2 separate regions of the Homo sapiens genome follow, and region 1 is linked to region 2. The links are contacts of gene promoters, found by promoter capture Hi-C in human tissues and cell types (Jung and others, 2019). All regions are on one chromosome and are shown on one strand. The core of a region is centred on a gene start or on the middle of the fragment in contact, and the rest is flanking DNA. Distances in the headings are between cores, read along the strand shown. Region 1 overlaps KCNB2 (potassium voltage-gated channel subfamily B member 2). Region 2 holds the start of KCNB2 (potassium voltage-gated channel subfamily B member 2).

The links. The method cuts DNA at HindIII sites, captures the fragments that hold promoters and counts their contacts. A contact is called where the count stands out against the background at its distance.
Region 1: a fragment that was not itself captured here is called in contact with the fragment with the promoter of KCNB2 in region 2 in 2 of the 25 tissues and cell types used here (dorsolateral prefrontal cortex and hippocampus).

What each region holds. Positions count from the first base shown.
Region 1 is chr8:72,576,778-72,580,255 of GRCh38, forward strand. The region is part of intron 2 of KCNB2 (potassium voltage-gated channel subfamily B member 2); the gene reads left to right. Among named protein-coding and RNA genes, the nearest start is that of KCNB2, 41 kb to the left of the region's middle. The HindIII fragment of the contact is 3,592 bases long and covers 1-3,342 here.
Region 2 is chr8:72,535,806-72,539,253 of GRCh38, forward strand. It overlaps KCNB2 (potassium voltage-gated channel subfamily B member 2), which reads left to right and starts at 1,420. Exons shown (of 3, transcript NM_004770.3): 1 at 1,420-2,080. RefSeq lists silencers at 1,010-1,139, 1,150-1,199, 1,210-1,269, 1,430-1,479. The HindIII fragment of the contact is 6,044 bases long and covers 1-2,801 here.

The sequences.
Region 1 (3,478 bases), core at 297-2,796, 41 kb after region 2:
AACATTGAAGGACTTGAAGAGACTGAGACTTCTCTGCAATTGCTATGTCAGGCTTAACACAAACATAATGAAGCTAGAATAAAACAGCTATTTATGGATGAATGAGGAACAGAGACATGTAGTAACTGGCACAGAGGCAGGAAATAGAAAAATGGAAGAGGAAGACATTTGCTTTCATCTCTCCAAAGTTTTTCCAGGAGATACTAGGAACTAACATCAGAACTATATCAGACTTTGCACCCATATAGTATTTATTTTTGGCTGTGCATATATCTAGGTTTAAGTTAACTCCTTAACTAATGCATAAAATGAATGTATTTTTCCACTTAAATCATCTCCTTTAATGTCTTTACAAAGTTTTAAGTAAAAGAATTCCTCTGGATATTACTAAGGACAGGTACCTGAACCCAACTGATGTTTGTTGTCAAGTTTCTGTGTCTACGGTGGCTGAAGCCAGTAGCAGCAGCCCTCACTGAGTAGTACCCAGACAAAGTCTGTTGTATGTGCCCATGTGTATGTGTGTGTGTATGTGTGTGTGTGTGTGAGAAAGAGATAGAGAGAGAGAGATGTTACTTATATATACTACCACCTCTTCATTAGAGTATGTTCTATTGTAAAGAACCCACCTGCAGAAAAAGCAATGAACTTCAGCATGTATTTGGCAATTTAGAATAGATGCAACTTTGTCATCCAAATAAGACAGTCAGCCCATTCAGAATACAAACTTTTGTGATAACCTGATAGGGCATGAAAATTCATAGGAAGTGCTCTCATGGTCCAAGAATAGAAGGAAGAAATATTTTTATTAGTCTCCCAAGATTTTGTTTCAGGATGCTAGAGGTCATTGCCACCCTAGATTTCACGCTTTAACTTCTCTCTCATTGGGTCACTCGTGATGCAACCCCAAGTGTTGGATGCCACTTTAAATAGCTACTTCAAGCCTACGCCACAGCAGTGCCAAGGACAGCCAAGTCAACCCGGTGCAGCTCCAGATGGGTTTGCTTGGTTGCAGCATCCGTCACTGCAACCAACCTCAGGATATTTGCACAGGAGAGGAAGAACCCTAGCCTTCAAGTCATCGTTTTAGCTTTAATCAATATACTATCTAGAGCTCAATTTGGAATACTGAAGGGCAGTTGTCCTATCTGCTGTCATCTAAGTTAAGTTCTTAACCAAATGGATTCTTCAAATATAGATTTTTTAAAACACTCACATTTTAGTTTGTATCTTAGAATTGCATTTGTATCTGGCAACATTTTGTATAGGACCATCTAACTTGTACATTCATGTCAGAGCATGTAGTTTTATTCAGGATTTGGTTGAATTAAAAAATAAATCAATGACACTCTGAAGAACAGCAACAGAGTCATGCTGTGATAAATTAGATGTATTTCATTAATACAATGGAAATTTACTTTGGGAAACTAGCAGAGGCCCTACATAATATCCCTGTGGTGAACAACCTGTTCTATTTCAGTGCATTTTTTAGTTTAGAGGCAGAAAAACGTTAGTAGGTAATCTTACTTTCTAAAAGGTGATAATTTGCCATACTACAGATGGAATGAACTATGTATGCAGTGAAAATATGAAATAGTAGGCCAGAATCTAGGATAACATGAATTTGCCATTTCATATTTGCTATGTAAAAAAGCTAACACACTTTATTATATTTCTTAAAAGAATTCTGCAGGTGTGAAAATTATTGTGTTATATAAGTAAAGTAATTGCATTATGAGTAATATTAAAATTCAAAGCAAAAAAAATCGGTTTTAAGCCCTGGTCTTTATTTTTCAGACTCTAACTCATGAGCCATTATAAATATTTTAAATTACATGGAATATTTACCAAGTGCTAGTCACACACACCTTTTAAAAATAGTTTTATATACAGATTAGCCTGAGGAAACTTTAAGGCAGTAAACTGTTTTGATAGGCAGATTTTAACAATATACCAAGTGTATTTATGAACTTAAAGAAATAAATATTATAATTGAAAAAAAACTGTTTTGGATTCTTTGTTTACCCATCTTGGTTGAGTTGTTTGGCAAATGCCAAAGCTTTGATGAGCTTTTCTCCCCCGTTGCACTTTGATGCATACATTTAAAAATAAGTGAGCCTGCAGATCAGATGACAGGCCTTTGCTGTTTATCTGACCTGGCTGTGGTGGGGTGGGTGGCCTCATGGTGTACTTTCTGTGCAGAAGAGGTTCTCTAAGGCACCATATTGCCACCAATGGGAACTTGGAAAATATCCAGATGTCATTTTCATTGCAGCACGGCCCAAATAAGGAAATGTCTTTCTTTCTTCCTTCAGCCATGATTTTATTTCTGCCTGAGGAGGTTCTGTTAATCTCTACATACCTGCTTCTTAGCTCCTTTCCCACTGCCTGCTCCGCTCAGAGCCCCACTGAGCCCCTCGAGAGCCCTCCTCACCTAGGACTGTTTGGGTTATACTTTACTGAACAACTGTTGATTTTCTACTGAATTTCTTTGGCTCCAATCAGACTTCATATTTATTTTTCATCTGGTTGTAAATCTTTTCATGAGTTGATGTCTACTTAAATTTTCACAAAATTGAATATTGTAAGAGTCCGAATTGAAGAAGCTAGCTCACCCTCCAAATGGATTTCATTTGGACTTTAATCTATAAAGAAGGTGTGTGTTTTTCTTTATCCTAAAGCATCGGAGGCTAAGACAAGTAGAATTTTCTCTTGTCAACTCTTTAAAATCAGCATCTACATAATACTTTTCCTCTCCCTTTGAGAGAAGCTGATTCTTCACCCACCCTCTGCCCTCCCTTAATCCGTGAACTCGGGCTGTGCAAGTTAAGCTGGTTTTACTTTCCGCTTTCTCGTAATAGCGTCACTATCCCCAGAGCCTTCTATTTGAGCAGAAATTTAACTCTGGGGAAAGAGACTGTTAATTGATACCTAATACAGTAACAGATGCTTTCACAAGGCTGTATTAGCTTCTGTTTTCAAAGTCCTCTGTGAGGTATGGATACAACTTCCTAGTATCATCAGAGTGTTCTTGCAACCCTTACTCTATCTTCTTATTCTGAGACCAATTCTTTTCTAACAATACTGCTTCCTTCCCAGCCTGGGGGAAAAAAAGGAACTTGTTCCCTGCAGTCCAGGGTCATGAAGTGAAAAGCACTTTCTCACATCCCCTCAGTAATTAATATGACTTTCTCAAAACAGCAGGAGGGGAGAGATTTATATTTATATTGAGTGTCTGCTATGTGCCATACACTAAGCTTGTTGATTTTTTGATGTTGACTCCACAACTTTTTCTGTAAAGGGCCAGAGAGTCACTATTTTCTGCTCCATGGGCCATAAGGTTTCTGTTGCAACTACTCAGCTCTGCTGCTGTGGTGAGAAAGCAACCACGGGCACTATGGAAACCAATGGAAGTAGCTGGGTTCCTATAAAGCTTGACAGCAGGTGAATTTAGCCCACAGGCCATAGTTTGCCAACCACT
Region 2 (3,448 bases), core at 170-2,669:
CAGGAAGGGGAATATCACACACCGGGGACTGTTGTGGGGTGGGGGGAGGGGGGAGGGATAGCATTAGGAGATATACCTAATGCTAAATGACGAGTTAATGGGTGCAGCACACCAACATGGCACATGTATACATATGTAACAAACCCACATGTACCCTAAAACTTAAAAGTATAATAATAATAAAATTTAAAAAAACACTCAATAAACAGAAGATACAAGGAAAAAATAAATAAATAAATAAATAAATAAATATAAATAAAACAGTGTACTTGGAACTTCCTCAACAGCCATCCTTCTTGGTCTATAGAAACTCAGGAGTCCCAGCTTTAAATAGACTTGTCACGGCCTGCGTTCGTTTCTAAAAGGTGTTTTAAGCTACTTTGTTTTCCTGAAAGCCCCTGTAACCGTGCCAGCTGTCTCTATTTCGTGCCTGTGAAGGAGCACTGGGGTCAGAAATATGTAAGGCTCAGTGTTATTATTCAAGTTCATTGTCTTTACCGAGCCCTGGAAGTGGGTACAGGTCTAAGTGTTCACCCTGCGGCCTCGCCAAGGGGTAACTTGGCATAGTTTTCCAGCTGGTAAGTTGATAGGCAAAGGAAAGAAAGAAGGGTATGAAGAGCGCCCCCGTGAGAAGCAAGGGTTAAGGTTGCCACGGACCCGGCTTTACCCTCAAACCCAGGAAAGCCGGGTCACTTGGGGCTAGGGACGGCCCCCGAGCGAGCGGGGCTGCAGGTGCCGCGAGGAAAGTCAGATCTTATCTGCGCTCCTAGTTATCTCCGCAGCTCTTTCTCCAGGAAAATAATCCTGGCACCACCACTCAGGAGCCATCTGTCTTCGCCCCAGTTCCCCGGGGTCGAGCAGTCAGCCCAGGGTCAGGGTCCTGCTGTGGGCGGGCGGGAGGACAGCCCTGCAGTTGGAAGCAGAAGGGCCGAGGGAATCCCGCGAAGCCGCCGGAGCGCGTCGCGGCGGGGCCTCCCGGGGCTTTCCCGGCCCCGGGTGCGCGGCAGCCGCGGGGGCTGCGTCCCTCTAGTCCAGTGCAGCCGGGTGGGAGCTGCAGAGCGAAGCAGGTGGGTGTGGAGCCAGGCCCGGGGCAGCAGGAGTGGCTGGCGCGCGGAAGCTGAGGGAGGCACCCCGCCGAGGTGTGGGCGGTGCCTGCCCGCGCCCCAGCCGCGCCCTGGGCACCAGAGCGCTGTCCCCGGCCGAGCGCACAGCTCCGGCGCCGCGAGGCAGAGCCCCGGCGTCCCCGGCGGTGCGCTGCCGGCTCGCGCAGCCCAGCCATCCCGCCCCGCCGCCCACCTTGACAGCCGGGAGCGCTGAGGAGGAAGAGGGGGAGGGGGAGGAGGAAGAGAAGGCGGCGGCCGCTCCAGCCCGCGGGTGCGCGGAGCGCGGGAGGAGGCGGAGCGGGAGGCTGGGGTGGCCGCAGCCCTGTGTGCGCGCCGGGCCGGCTAGCTGCGGGGCGGGGGAGCGGCGCCCCAGAGCGCCCCGCCTAGCCTCCCGCGCGCAGCCTCTACCCTGCTCCGCCACAGACACACACCCACCAAGCACCCACCGCCCTCCGCCCTCCGCCCTCCGCCCCCGCGGCCGCCGCCGCCGCTGCGCCTCGGGCAGCCCCAGCGAGCGGCAACTCCCGGGCTGGCGCGGCTCGCTTTCTGGCTCCTTCCGCGCGGCGAGCTCAGCCCCGCTCGATTTTTCCTCTTCTGTTCCAGCCCTCTCTTGTCTGGGTGGCTGTGGCGGCGGCAGGGGGATGGGGACCCCGTGTGGGGAAGGGGTTGAAGATCGATGAAGATTATTGTTCTTTTAAAGGATGCCTTAGCTTCCTCCCGCCGCCTTTCCTCTGAGCCTTCCTACTAGAGACCGTGAACCAGAGTCAGGGATGTAAAGACAGGGGGAAAGCACGCCGGGAGCTCCAGCCAGCCGGGGAGACCCTCCTCTCTGTGGAGGGGAGGGGGATTTCCAGCGACAGGTCATTGGCGAAGGGGATCGTCGCGGGGAGAGGCTCCCCGGAGGGAGCGGGGAATCCCACAGCCCTTTGTGGTGCCCGAGCCCGTGCCGCCTGCTGAGCGGGGTCTGTGGGAGCTAGGTAAGTGGCGGGGGCATTGCTGCTCCCCGAAGGGGGTCTTCCTTTAAGAATGAATCATCGCGGCAGCCTAGCCAGACTTGAGTTGCTAAAGGAATTGGAAACTGCCATATGGCGCCCAGTGGACTTACACACAAAGCTGACTTAGCCCTGAGAGGGTTTTTAATGTCAGGCTCCTTCCCGGTGGGGAAGGCGCTCAAGTATTAGCCCCTGAAAAGCTTCCCAGCAGCCTGACTGGGAAGGGATGGGGATGTTATTTCTAGGAGCCGAGCTCTTGTTGCCTTCCGTCCATTTGTTGGTAAATGCCACACTCACATGCACACACTTGTGGGACTGGATTTAGGGAGTGTGATGTCTCTGATGTATGAACGATCCTCAGAACACAGAGACATGCGTGCATTTTATTCTTCAAGCGGTGCGCGGTCTCCGTTCTGTAGCACGATTCCTGAGAGGGAGAACGGGTCTCTAAGGAAAGAGCTTCATGGCTGTTTCCAACACACTCTGCTAGGGGACTTGGGAATACGTTTGCCCTGAATAGCACCAAAAGACATCGACCATTTGCCTCATCATTTGCTCCCGATGCTTAATGATCCTCTTCAAAATAGTATGCCGCCATCCATTTTCTCGAGTTGTGAGCATTTATGCGTATTCATTCATAAAAACTGTCAGTGTGCAATATGCACAAACATGCCATTTATGCAACATTTATGACTGCACATGTGTTTCAACAATAAGTAATAATGCATACAAGATTACATTGAAAAAAATTTAGTATGCACATACACTGGGTTAATTCCGCGCAGGTTCAACATTCCTTCTAATCAAGTTGTGTAGTAATGTCAAGATTTTAAGTATCGTATCACATTTTCATTTTTGCATTGATTAATTTTTTTATTTTGTTGGGAATCTGATTTTTTGAAACTGAGGGAAAGGAAGAGTAAGCATTTTATTGTTATTGTTAAATGTGTAGTATAGTGTGGGTCGGAAGTCTCTTGGTTTATTTACCAATAAACAGCAATCAATATATTACATTTCATAGGACAAGCGAGAGATAGATTTCGGTCAAAAATCTTGTCTTACCTGTCAGTGCTGAATAACTTACAGGAAAGATTTTGTAAAAGAGGGTAACATTCTAAAGTTACATATCAAGAAAATAAAGTTTTGTTTTATCTATTTCACTCTTTAGGGGCATGTGTGTGTGTGTGTCAATAAATATAAAGTTGTCCAAAGCTTAACGTAATACATGAATAAAACCCATCTAGACTAGACATCTAGGCTAGAGAGTTCTTTGTTCTTAAATTAACTCAAACAGTTTAGTAATTTGGCACATTACACATGTGTATGCGCATTTAATTGCCGTTTGAGGTGGTG